4 separate regions of the Homo sapiens genome follow, and all the other regions are linked to region 1. Evidence: promoter capture Hi-C in 16 types of primary human blood cells and fetal thymus (Javierre and others, 2016). All regions are on one chromosome and are shown on one strand. The core of a region is centred on a gene start or on the middle of the fragment in contact, and the rest is flanking DNA. Distances in the headings are between cores, read along the strand shown.

What was found. Contacts are between HindIII fragments. The CHiCAGO score rates a contact against its expected background, and 5 or more counts as called.
Region 2: a fragment that was not itself captured here is called in contact with the fragment with the promoter of PRKCA in region 1 in 2 of 17 cell types (M1 macrophages and M2 macrophages); the score reaches 5.3 in M1 macrophages.
Region 3: a fragment that was not itself captured here is called in contact with the fragment with the promoter of PRKCA in region 1 in 1 of 17 cell types (endothelial precursors); the score reaches 7.6 in endothelial precursors.
Region 4: a contact is called between a fragment that was not itself captured here and the fragment with the promoter of PRKCA in region 1, in 1 of 17 cell types (endothelial precursors). The highest score is 6.1, in endothelial precursors.

Annotation. Positions count from the first base shown.
Region 1 is chr17:66,300,410-66,303,967 of GRCh38, forward strand. PRKCA (protein kinase C alpha) reads left to right here and starts at 2,204. Exons shown (of 17, transcript NM_002737.3): 1 at 2,204-2,615. The coding sequence starts at 2,443. RefSeq lists an enhancer at 2,998-3,499. The HindIII fragment of the contact is 2,886 bases long and covers 348-3,233 here.
Region 2 is chr17:66,587,402-66,590,483 of GRCh38, forward strand. The region is part of intron 3 of PRKCA (protein kinase C alpha); the gene reads left to right. Among named protein-coding and RNA genes, the nearest start is that of PRKCA-AS1, 170 kb to the left of the region's middle. The HindIII fragment of the contact is 4,365 bases long and covers 1-3,082 here.
Region 3 is chr17:66,607,278-66,610,491 of GRCh38, forward strand. The region is part of intron 3 of PRKCA (protein kinase C alpha); the gene reads left to right. Among named protein-coding and RNA genes, the nearest start is that of MIR634, 180 kb to the right of the region's middle. The HindIII fragment of the contact is 3,067 bases long and covers 110-3,176 here.
Region 4 is chr17:66,647,673-66,650,990 of GRCh38, forward strand. The region is part of intron 5 of PRKCA (protein kinase C alpha); the gene reads left to right. Among named protein-coding and RNA genes, the nearest start is that of MIR634, 140 kb to the right of the region's middle. The HindIII fragment of the contact is 4,812 bases long and covers 1-3,318 here.

The sequences.
Region 1 (3,558 bases), core at 954-3,453:
CTCCCCAACTGAGCTAAGATGTGGGCTATTGATGCTTTCATGCCCAGCCCAACCATGAATCAGTTGACTTCCAGTCAATCATTCCTCCTCGTACCCACCAGGAACAACACTAACAACTGAGGCAAGAATGCAAAGCCACAACCTAAAAGAAAACAGACACATTGTTCCATCTGATCTACTGACAGCTAAGACAGTCACTCCATGGAGTACACAGGAGATTCGCAGGCTGCTGCCAGGGCTCATTCTGTTCTTGTCTTTCCTATGACTTTACTCAGGATTCCATTATCAGCAACTTCACCCTCCAGCTCTCTCCATCCTCCTATGAAAGCCTCAGGGACATAGAAATAAGCTTGTCTTTGTAAAATGTGCCAGGATCTCCGTCTTAGATAAAAGACGACTATGAGAAAAGAAATTATTTCATTCCACTATGTTCCATTTGATTTCTGCTTTCAAGCAATAAACCACCATGGCTTGAGATGCTTCTAGTGTTTCATGGAGAATTGGGACTATTTCCCCAACATGCCCTGCTCTTCATTCCTCTTTGCTTCTTCCCTTTTTGACTCCTTGGACCCGAGGGGCGACCATGAGTGGCGAAATTTCTGACCAGCTAGAATACCAGGCAGGTGCAGGCTCTTGAAGCACCAAGACTGGCTCAAGAGATTGTAAATGGATCAGTCAAGTGCATGCACCACTGACGGCCAGTCAGGAGAGCTTCCATTTGTTAAAAATATAAAGGACATTCCTATCATCAAGCATCACAATTAGGCAATCTCAAAGAAAACAATATTAGCTCTACTTGGCCTATGTTACATGCTCTAAGAAAGTATTTTAGAAAAGTTTTTTTTTTCAACATAAATTTATTGAAGGATCAAACGTGTTCTCTTTCTTGGTCTCTTTAGCTCGTAAAGTCGTTTTGGGGATTTCGTGAATCTGGCAAATAAAACAAAACACCAATGAAACGCTGAGAAATGATTATTTCCCTTATGTATTTTAGCGGCCTCCAGGCAGACCTGATAAATATTCAGCGAGTGATTAGCTGGTGCATCCCCACCTGCGTCCTTTGCATAGCCATGCCCGCTACTCTTTCACAGGCAGTTTTACTTGGTAAGTTACAAACGTACTGGCTGCACTCTGCACCTGACAGTATTGCAGTAATTAGCTTGGGATGCAAAATGATTTCTAAATTAAGGTCCTGGACTTGTAAAATCAAGAAAGCCTGATAATCAACATCGTCGCTCTGGTGGCCATTGAATAACGGGATAAATACCTAAGACAAGTCCTTTAACCATCCCACGTGGTGATAAATGCCCGACGTACAAATTAAAAGTCTCTACCACACGCAGGTGAAATAAGGTATAGGTCAAGAAGAGAAGGTAGGGGAAAGGGTCAATGCTTAATTATTTAAAAATCGCTCTCTTCCTCCTGTAGGAAGGTCTAGGGGCTAGGTCTTTTAGTGCACACGTGATGAAAGTGACATTTTGGCCAGGTGAAACCTCAAGCTGGTACAGGCAGCTAAAACACGGGCGTCGTGCCCTGGAGACACCGGGGGTCCTGAGGATGGGGAAGGGGCTCCCTGCTGCGGGTGCTGAGGGGTTAGGAGGTGAGCACCGGGCGGGAGGCTCCGGGGCAGGGGCTGCGCGTGGAGCCCACTCCCGGACGCGGGCTCCTCTCGGCCCGGCACGGGTGGCGCAGGACTCCGAGCCCGTCGACAAGAGAGAGAGCGGGAGTGGGAGAAGGAAGACCGGGAGAGGAGGAGGCCGGGCGGCAAGAGCGGAAGAAGAGGAGGAGAACTGAGGCGGAGGAGGGCGAGAGGGAGGAGAGCCGGGCGCAGGAAGGGGAGGAAAGAAAAAGGCGGCGGAGGAGCGCGGACCCGCCACTCCCGGCCTCCTCCCCCGCATCCCCACTCGGGCCGGCCCTCCCCCGGCCGCCGCCGCCGCCGCCGCCGCCGCCGCCGCCGCCGCCGCCGCCTCCCCTTGCCCAGTGTTCCCAGCACCGCAAGGCACTCGCTGCCTCCTCCGCACTCGGTCCGGTCCGCTCAGCGCCGCCGCCGCCGCACCCTCGCCGCACCCCCGCGCGCGCCCGGCCCGCGCGCCCCCGCCGCTCGTCCTCGCGGCCTCGCGCTCGGGGCATGCGCGGTGGGCGGTGCCGCTCCGGGCCGCCTCTGCCGCCGCGAGTAGGAAGCGCGAGCGCCGGGCACCGGGCTGTCAGTGAGCCTGGGGCCAGCGGGCGAGCCAGCGGCTCCGGCTCCCGCTCCCGCTCCGCGCAGCACCAGCCCGACTCTCCCCGGCCCCCGCCGCGCCCCCTCGCCGCGACCTCGGCCACCGGCCCGCGCCCCGCGCCCGGGGTCGCCCCGAGCCCGCACCTCTCCCCCGCCGCCCCCGCCCACCCGGCCCTCCGCGGCCGCAGCTCCCCGGCGGAGGCAAGAGGTGGTTGGGGGGGACCATGGCTGACGTTTTCCCGGGCAACGACTCCACGGCGTCTCAGGACGTGGCCAACCGCTTCGCCCGCAAAGGGGCGCTGAGGCAGAAGAACGTGCACGAGGTGAAGGACCACAAATTCATCGCGCGCTTCTTCAAGCAGCCCACCTTCTGCAGCCACTGCACCGACTTCATCTGGTAGGTGCCGGGCCGGGCACTCCTGCCCCGCTCCTCCCCGCCTCCGGGTCCCGGCACCCGGCGCTCCGGCGCGTCCGCCCCGGGGCTGGCTCACTCCGATAACTTGGAACCGGCGGGAGTCCGAACTCTTCGCCCGGAGTGACACGCGCGCCCGGCCCTGACACCGGCGGGCAGGACTCCCGGGACGTCGCCGTCCCGCCACACACACCCCCTGGCGCGAGAGGGAGGCTGGCCCCGTACGGTGGCGAAGGGGATCCCTCTCCGGGCCGGGCCCCTCACCTCCCCGGGCGCGCCCACCCGCACGCACCCAGCGGAGCGGCCGCTTGCCGGGGTGTGAGCCCAGGGGACAGGGGAGGAGGAGAGGCCCTAAGGGGGCAAAGGTTCCCGGAGAAACGCGCCCCGGAGTAACGGGGGAGCGGCGGCGATTGCACTGCGCGCGGTCCAAGTTGCTGGCGAGCCAGGCTGGGCGCGTTCGGGGTGGGGGGGTTGTGTTTGTGCTTCCCATCGGGCTGGACTGCGCTGGCATCTTGGGCCCCTGCCTACTGTAGGCTGCATCTACTGGGCACGGAGAGACTGACTTTTCTGAGTGAGCAGAGAGAGAGAGAGCAAACTGTTGAAAGCTTGCAGTGGGGGAGGGGGAGTTCTAGCAGGCAAATGGCACAAGGGCAGAGGGACTCATTTAAAATAGACCCTGTCGGCCAGGCGCGGTGGCTCACGCCTGTAATCCCAGCACTTTGGGAGGCCGAGGCAGGCGGATCACCTAAGGTCAGTAGTTCGAGACCAGCCTGGCAAACATGGTGAAACCCCGTCTACTAAAAATACAAAATTAGCCGGGCGTGGTGGCACACGCCTGTAATCCCAGCTACTCGGGAGGCTGAGACGGGAGACTCGCTTGAACCCGGGAGGCGGAGGCTGCAGTGAGCCGAGATCGGGCCACTGCACT
Region 2 (3,082 bases), core at 286-2,785, 290 kb after region 1:
GTTTGAAACTTGTTTTCTGTCCAACCTGATAGATTTGAGATTTATCCATATTGATTTATGTAGATCTAGTTCATTCATTTTACTTGTTATATATGATGACAGTAATTGGTTCGTTTTCCTAATGGAGGACAGCTAGATTGCTTCCACATTTCTGCTCTTTTAAACAGATATATATATAGATAGATAGACAGATAGATAGATAGATTGATTGATTAGATAGATATAGATATATAGATATATATAACATATATGTGTGTGTATATATACATATATACGTATATGTGTGTGTATATGTATACATATATACGTATATGTGTGTATATGTATACATATATACGTATATGTGTGTATATGTATACATATATACGTATATGTGTGTATATGTATACATATATACGTATATGTGTGTGTATATGTATACATATATACGTATATGTGTGTATCTACATATACATATATACATATGTATGTGTGTGTGTGTGTGTGTGTGTGTGTATATATATATATATATATATATATATATATATATATCCTGCAGTAGCTCTTCTTGTGAGATTCTCCTATGTGAGAATTCCCCTAGGTCTGGGGTGTACTCAGAAGGGGAACTGCCAGTCATATGTATCTTTAACTTTACTAGCTTTGGCAACTTGCTCTGCAAAGTGTCTGAACCAATTTACATTCCACCAGCAGTGTTGGAGGATTCTACTTCCTCAAATTCTTACCAATAAATGCTTTTATCAGGTTGACCAAAAAGATTCCATGTGGCTGGGGTGAAAGAGCAGGTGTTTGCCTCTCTGTGATTGCTGGGAAGGTTAAACACCTTTTCATAGGTTGATTAGCCATCAGTGTTGCTTCTTCTGTGAATTGTTTGTTTATATCTCTAGCACCTTTTTCCTCCTTCCTGTTTTGGGGCATGAGGAAGAGAGGTGATGCTTTACTCACTGATTGGTAGAAATTCCTTACATATTCTGGATACTAATTTTTTGTTGATATAAGTTGCAAATTATCTTCTGCTGGGATTTGACATTTTCATAAAATATTTTGATGAAAGAAAAATGAGAAATAGGGAAGAGCATTCAACCTTTAATAGAAGCATCTGTAAAAGGGTCTATTTGTTCTGCTCCTGAGACAAGTTGGTGGTGTGTTAAACTAATGAATCATTACAGTTCCCATATATGCAGTTATCATTACATGAGCCTTTTTTATTTCTTTCTGAGGTTTTATTTTGCTTTGCTTTTTTTTTTTTTTTTTTTTTTTTTTTGAGAGTTTCGCTTTGTTGCCCAGGCTGGAGTGCAGTGGCACCATGTCAGCTCACTGCAACCTCTGCCTCCCAGGTTCAAGCAATTCTAGTGCCCTAGCCTCCTGAGTAACTGGGATTACAGGCACCCACCACCATGCTCGGCTGATTTTTTGCATTTTTGTAGAGACAGGGTATCACCATGTTGCCCAGGCTGATCTCGAACTACTGATCTCAGGTAATCCACCTGTCTCAGTCTCCCAAAGTGCTAGGATTACAGACATGAGCCACTGCACTGGTCTTGCTTTGCCTTTTTAAGGCATCACCTTTAGGGACTTGCCTTTGTTCTTGATGGTTCTCCAGGGTCACTTGTTTGAGACTTTAGTAACAAGTTGCTGATACCTTAGGTAATGATACTTACAATTACCTAAGTCCCAGATGAACGTGAAGTCTGCCCACTTCCAGGTCATGGGATCTTAAGTTCTTATGACCCATAAAAGACTTAGACTAGCTTCTTGACACCTACCAGCTCATGGGTGAGTAGCTCCCATCCTCCCAAACTAGAAGCAATTCATTTCATTACAAACCCACCAAAAAGCACAATTCTGTCCACCAAGAGATAACGGCTGTTAGTACCCTGAAATATATCCTGTTAAACTTTTTCTAATACATATGAGTATGTGAATATCATATAACTAAAGTGATCATAAAATACTTATTTTAGATTGTAGGTTTTTTTACACAATACGTGTCTCAGAAGTCTTCCTAGGTTAATGCATACACTCCTACAGTGGCAGCTTTAATGGCTGTGTAGTATTCCATTGTTATCTTGAAGATTTTAAAACATCTTTTTTGTTGGATATGTGGCTGATTTCCATTTTTTTACTATAAGGAGCAATCTTTAAGTGAACCTTCTTGTACATGGATGTTTGTGAACATCCAAAATCTAAGACCTGGAATTGCAGGGTGAAAGTTACACTGATCTCTGCGACTTTTGTTGTATACCCTACAGGTGTTTAGCATAATGGGGAGGGGCAGTTGTCTGGGGCTCTCATTTGGAGGAAACTTACTGAGCATGAATTGGGGATACGAAGATGATAAGATGATCTCACTCCCTTGTGTCAGGGGCTCATGGTCTAGGGCAGCAGTCTTCAACCTTTTTGGTGCAGGGACTGGTTTCATGGAAGACAATTTTTCCATGGACCCGGTTGTGGTGTGGTTTCAGGATGAAACTTTCCACCTCAGATCATTAGGCATTAGATTCTCAGAAGGAGGGCATAGCCTAGATCTCTCAATGTGCAGTTCACAATAGGGTTTGTGCTCCTATGAGAATCTCATGCCGCCGGTGATCTGACGGTAGGCAGAGCTCAGGCGGTAATGCTTGCTTGCCCGCCGCTCACCTCCTGCTGTGCACCCCAGTTCCTAACAGGCCATGGACAGGCACCGGTCCATGGCCTGGGGGTTGGGGGCCATACACTGGCAGCTGGGCAGGAGGCAGCAGGCTCAGGACATGAGGAAACTGACCCTAGGAGGGAGGAGGTTGGTCTCCAGTTTCAGGAGGTAGATGTCAACTGCCTGAAATTCTCTGGAGACAATACCCCTGGCTCCCCTCTCCACACATCAGCCCTCTGTCTGAATGATATAACATGATTCCCTTGACTAAAAGCACAGCCCTTGCTGTATCTGAGGTGAGCCACAAAACCTCTTGCACTTCAGTCTCCACCCCTGTTAGTTGTGGAGAATAATACCTGTAGCTTGCTCTGCTTCACAGCCATGAGATGCAAGGCACATAATGGATGGAAGAGTGCTCGGCCACTGTGAAGCTCTGTGTAAATGTTATATACA
Region 3 (3,214 bases), core at 393-2,892, 310 kb after region 1:
TGAATGATTCTCTTTCTTTCCCAATTTACATAGTTCTGTGGGAAAAAATCGGACATACAGTGAGTTAAGTGGAGAATTGTTGCAAGCAAGCCATGAACTGCCTTTTAAAAGCTTGTCCTTTTGAGGGGAAGAGACATGGATTCTCCACTTCATCCCCTCAGTTAAACAAAAATCTGAGCCTTGCATATTTAAAGATAAAAATATACTTAATTTTTAAAGTTATTGTTTTGGTCCAGTTTAGAAAATACCACCTCATTTTCTCCTCCCTTATGTCTTGATATTGATCCCAAAGAATGTGCGTCAAACTAAGAAAGTTAATTTTCATGTAGCAACATCTGGTTCCTTAGCCAATTCAGGGAACTCTTGAGTGCTTATGCTCAGAGCTTTTGCTGCTGTTTCTAGATTCCACCCTCTGTTAGCTTCTCACAAGCAGTCCGGTATTTGGTAGAGTGTGGGGGGCCGGGGGCTCATGAAGTCAGATTCCAACGTGCAGGGTTTGTTTGAGATGCCTGTAGGATCAACCAGGTTTCACCTCTGGATGTATGTTTAATTCAGTGGACGTTGTCATTTTGATGGCACATACCCTTCAGTAAAAAGAGGTTAAAAGTATTCTAAAATGAGGTGGTGGATTATCTGTTTGGGTAGCTACATGGTCTCTGAAGTCTCTTCCATTTTAAGATAAAATTGCCAAAGACAGTTTTTACAAGTTTGGAACTTTCTGAGTGGGTGATACGCATTAGGGTTTTGGTGGTGCTGATTATTGCATCCAGAGGTTGGCCCTGACTTCTGTCGTCTGCTGGTCTTGGAATACATTGAAGCACACCGATTGGAGCACACCGACTGAAGCACACCGATTGGAGCACACCGATTGGAGCACACTGACTGAAGCACACTGATTGGAGCACACCGATTGGAGCACACCAATTGGCTTTTGCTTTTGGAGCTTGGTTATTGTGCAGTGTTCCCACTTACCTAATCATCACTTTGTTGGTGGTGGAGTGGAGGGCCTCACTCTGGTTCCAAGCAAGTCATTAGAATGATCTACAATTTGCAGTTCTAAAATCAGGAAAACTTGGGGTTTCTCCAAAGCCTGCATTAAACAGAACTTTTTCTTTCTTGAAGGTCCAGATCCATACTTAAATTTTACTTAAATTTTAATGAGTAATATTTTCCCATCAGTGGCCTAACGCACTATAAATTATGTATGCTGCACATTAAATTCATTTTTATTTTTTCACAAACTGGACTTAATGGCATTTGTTGTTTTGTATACCCTATACGATAGAAATTTGTTGCTGAAAAGGAATTCAGGGGTCCTCCAGATCACTGGTTTCCAAACCTGACTCTTTAGGAAGAAAACAAACAAAAATCCTCCAGTTTCGTTATGGACGTGATGAATGAGACACCCACGGAGTATGGCCCAGGAATCTGTTCTCATAAAGGTCTCCAGGAAGGTTGGGAAGGAGGAGGGAAGAGCGTAGAGCTATTCTCCCTGAAAAGAAATAGGCCAAGAGTTGATTGTTGTGTTAGCTGGTAATGGGTACTTAGGGATCCATTATTCTCTCTGCTCTTTGCATGTATTTGAAATTTTCCATAATGAAAAGACTTTTAAAAAAGATTAAATAACAGCTTCCCAGGTGATCCTGAAAATCAGCCAGGTTTGGGCAGCACAATCAATCCGCCTCTCCCCCTTAACAGGTGAGAACAGGAAGGCGAACGAGGCCATGCAGTTTGCGTGAATGAAGAACTCATATAGGATCTAGAACTCCTGTTTCTGCCCCATAGGCCTAAGCCCTTAACTCCTCATGGCCTCCTCAGACTAATCATTTTGCTGACCTTCTTAGCATTTTAAAAGAGAATTAATAAATCTGACTTGTATGATTCACTTACTTTTTTTTAAACACAGAGGAGTGTTGAGTGTTTTTGAGATGTTTTTCTTTCTTCACACATTTTTCTAAGATCCTTTTAAACCCATTCCATTGGACTTCAAGGTAGCTATTGGCTTTTCAAACATAGGTTACGGGGCTACTACTTTGCCGCTAGTTAGTGTGTGAGGCCACTGGTAAATGAATGAATGAATGAGCAGTAAAGGTGCTGAAAAGTGTAATGCGTGTCTATATGAAGCAGTGTCTATTGAGCAAACCGGAGAGACCAGCTCCATCCTGGAAAATTAAAACAATGGTACTGTGACTTTGCCTATTGCCAATCATCGATCAGTCCTGTCGGTCTGACTTAACCTTCTAAAGCTCTTTACCACAGTGTATAGATAAGTTGCCTGTCATGTAAATATATCTTATTGATTTTGTCAGGCAGCTGGCCAGTTTTCTTAAAAATGTGTCAAATTGTCTGAATGATTTGACCAGAAACCCCGAGAGTCAACGTGAGGAGGAAAGAAAGAGGAAGGGAACGGGGAAAAAAAGGGAAGGAAAAAGACAAATACCACCTAATTGAGACTAAAGGAATGATCACTGGGGCTACCATGGCTTTTGTTTGGTTTTGGCAAGGCTTTATTTTATTTTTTTTTTACTGTCAGTGAAAACAAGAATTTGTATTGCAGGAAAAACAAACTAACAAGTGTTTTTTCCTACTGTACTCTCAACACAAAGTGCTTCTGGTCACCAAAATGTGGAGAGATGTTGCCCCCCACCCACACACAAAGCAACTCTCCAGCAGACACCAACCGGGTGTCCTATAGTTCAGTGTAATTCTGAGATTATCTACCTGGAGATAGCATCAGGTCCGACAAGATAAGGGTTCAGTCCCACAACACTGCCCCCCACCATCCCTGCTTCAGACACTACTCATAAGTACAGGTTACCCATAGCTGATGTCCAATTTAGCTACAAATTGACCCCCTTTTAGGGTTCTCTTGTTTGCTAGGACAGCTCGCAGAACTCAGGAATGCACGTTACTTACATTTACCAGTTTATTATCAAGGATATTACAAAGGATACAAATGAACAGCCAGGTGGAGGAGATGCACAGGGCAAGGGATGTGAGGAGGGGCCCAGAGCTTCCATGGCCTCCCCGGACCCACCATCAACAGAGCTTTCTGAACCCTGAAGTCCAGAGACTTTTATGGAGGCCTTCTCACACAGGCATGACTGATGATTCACTCCATCTCCAGACCCTCACCCCTTCCTGGAGACTGGGGAGCAGTAGAGCTAAAAGTTTCAAGCTTCTAGTCATGGCTTGGTCTTTCCAGTGACCAGCC
Region 4 (3,318 bases), core at 175-2,674, 350 kb after region 1:
TCAGGCCTTATCGTGCTAGAGCTTACATCAGGCTAATTCCTCTACCATTGCCAAAAGTTGAACTTGACTCACAATTGTAGAGTCAGCTTAAGGAACAAGACCTTTCACTGGGTTGGATGTCGACTTTTTGCATGTGAAAGCCAGCCAGTATTGCTTATGCCAACTCTCTGGGCTAAGTCCCTTGAGAATTAGTTTAAAAATTTTTGTAGAGCTATAGCTCCACTCTAGGAATGTGAATTCAGCAAGTTTAATTAATAATAATAATAATAATGTCTTATTCCATTCAGGCTGCTATCACAAAATACCTTAGACTGGGTTATTTATAAATAATGGGAATTGATGTATCACAATTCTGGAAGCTGGGAAGTACAAGATCGAGGCCCCAGCAGATTCAGTGTCTGGTGAAGGCTCCGTCTCTGCTTCATAGATGGCACTTCTCACTGTGTCCTCACATGGCAGAAGGAGGGCAGGCTGTGTCCTCACATGGTGCAAGGAGCGAACTTGCTCCCTGTCATCTCTTTTATAAGGCTCTGCGTTTGGTTGAAGGTTATCCCGAAAGGATTACTTCCCAAAGGCCCTACCTCTTAATACTATCACACCGGGAATCCAATCTGAAGATATGAATTCAGACCACAGCAAATAGTAGCAGCAGCTCACAGCTATTCAGTGCTTCCTCCACAGGACCGCTTTCTAAGTACTTTATGTACTAACTTTTATTCAAATCTGTGAAGAAGTTGACTTTATTATCCTTACGTTATAGATGAAGAAACGGAGATACAAGGAAATGAAGTGACTCACCCAGAGTCACACAGATGGTAAATTGGATGGCTAAATATTTAAATGGCACATGCGGAGAGAAGATATTTTGATGACAGTTTCCATAAGAATTGGAATCTATTTTTAAAGTACAGTTATGTGTGTGAAGGGAATCCAATGTTAAGTATGGAAAGTCAGGCTCAAGGAAATAACTAATTAGTAATTACATCTTTAACATTTTTAATTTAAAGTAATTTAAGATTTTCAGAAAAGTTGCACACACAGTACAGAGTTCTCGTACACCCTTCACCCAGCAACCCCCGATGTTAATGCCCTTGTATAACTATAGTACCTGATAAATTTATGAAAAATAAGTGCTTACAGCCAGGTGCAGTGTCTCACACCTGTAATCCCAGCACTTTGGGAGGCCGAGGCGGGTGGATCGCTTGAGGTCAGGAGCTTGAGACCAGCCTGGCCAACATGGTAAAACCCCATCTCTACTAAAAATACAAAAAATTAGCCAAGTATGGTGGCATGCGCATGTAGTCCCAGGTACTCAGGAGGAGGCTGAGGCAGGATAATCGGTTGAACCCAGGAGGTGGAGGTTGCAATGAGCCCGAGATTGTGCCACTGCGTTCCAGCCTGGGCGACAGAGCGAGAGTCCATCTCAAAAAAAAAAAAAAAGAAAGAAAGAAAAAATAGGTACCCGCATTAGTTACTAGGAATTTTTTTAAAGAGCCAAATAGAAGACATCAGACTCATCTTATTTCAGTATAAAAGGACCACAAGTGGTACTAAGCAGAGCCCCCTTGGGGCAGTGCTTGCCAATGATGGGTGGCACCCCCATGCCCATTATCTGCCTGCACCTTCTCCCAACCAAATAGTTCAGGCATGGGTTTGTCTTGAGAAATGTTTTCATACCAATAGCTACCATTTATTGAGTGCTTGCTCTATATTTATTGTTCATAGGACTGGACCTTTATGCTCAGCATTTTATATTCATTGCTTCATTGACTCCCCAACCAATCCCATGAAGTAAATACTATTATTATCCTCCTTCTTGAAATGAGCAAAGGAGCTGAGAGAAAGGAAGGAAATGGCTCCAAGTTACAAGGTGGAAAGTGATGTAGTTGGGGCCGCAGCCCGGGCCTGGCTTCCACACTCTTGCTTTCAGTGCATAGGCTATGAATGTTCCAAGTCTCTCTTATTAATTAGAGTCTCCTTTGGAACAAACAATTAACCCATAAATATTTGCTGAACCCACAATCAGCACCCCACAAAGTTTTTTGAGGTCACGGAAGGTCCAAACATGGGACTTAAAACCAGGGGAGAAAAGAGTAACACAAGAAGAGAACAAAGAACAACCCATATCCAAGTAAAATTAAATACCAAGTACATGGTGATGAAATAGCACACCCTTGGGAGGTACTGAGGGTGGGGAAGGGGACAGAGAGGGAAGGACCCTGTGGAGAAGCAGCCGACTGAATACTGTAGGTATTTGAGAGACAGAGAGGGAAGAGAGCTCCGATTGAGAGAGTCAGAGGGCTGTGGGAATTAGCCTGGTGGTGGCTTTCATGAGAACACAAATATAAACCATAAGCCATCACATGCAGAGTTTATGGTCCAGATGCGAGTGATTTCTCAGAAAATGCACTTAAACCTGAACCCTGAGCAGCTGTGTTAATTGCTAGGTTAGTTCAAACTGTGTCTTACCTATGTAGAATCACTCAGGTTGAAGATAATTCCCAAAGTAACGTAGAAACTCCCGACAGGAGCTCTGCTTCAGGATGGAAACCTCCGTTTGCAGTCAGAGATGAGTTTTCTTTCTAGCTTGGTGGGGTATTTATGGGAAAGCCCCGAGCTTTGGTGGTGTATTTTTATTTTTTGCCTTTGGGCGGTGGTGCTGATATTATCAGAATGGTGTCGGGGTTTTTTTTTCTTCTTCTGATAGGAGATTGTAATAGGTTTTCTACACTCTAGTGTGTTTTGTAAATTCGGTTTATAGGAGTAGTAAAAAAAAAATCCCTCATGGGAACCAATTTTCAATTTAATCTTGTAAGTAAATGGAAAAAATATCGGGTGCTTTAGAGCTGTTTCAGGAGCACGTCTCTCCCACAGATAGATTATTCTGAAGAAGAGTCTAATTTTCTCAACAACTTGAGTTTGTTAATTTGGTGTGGAGATTGAAGTTTTAAACTGAACTCTGGTCGGGGAGGGGAAGACTTCCTCCCAGCTCTTACGGCCCAGAGACTCCTCCTGCCTACCTAGGGCCCTGCGCGATTTGATGTCTGTCACCCCTGCAGATATGGAGACTCACCCTCATCTTATTGTAATTAAAACAATAATATTCCCTCTGTGTGTTCTTCCACCTTACCATGGTGTATTTGTTACAGAATGAAGGAAATGAGCCTCAGCTTTGTATGATAATCGTTCATTTTTTTTGCTTCACCCATTGATCATACATTATTGAGCGTGTGTCCTGCTCTCTTCCTGGCACCAGGGATGCTAAGATGATTAAGACCTAGACCGTGTCACAGACTGTGTGGTCTTTGGGGGAGAATT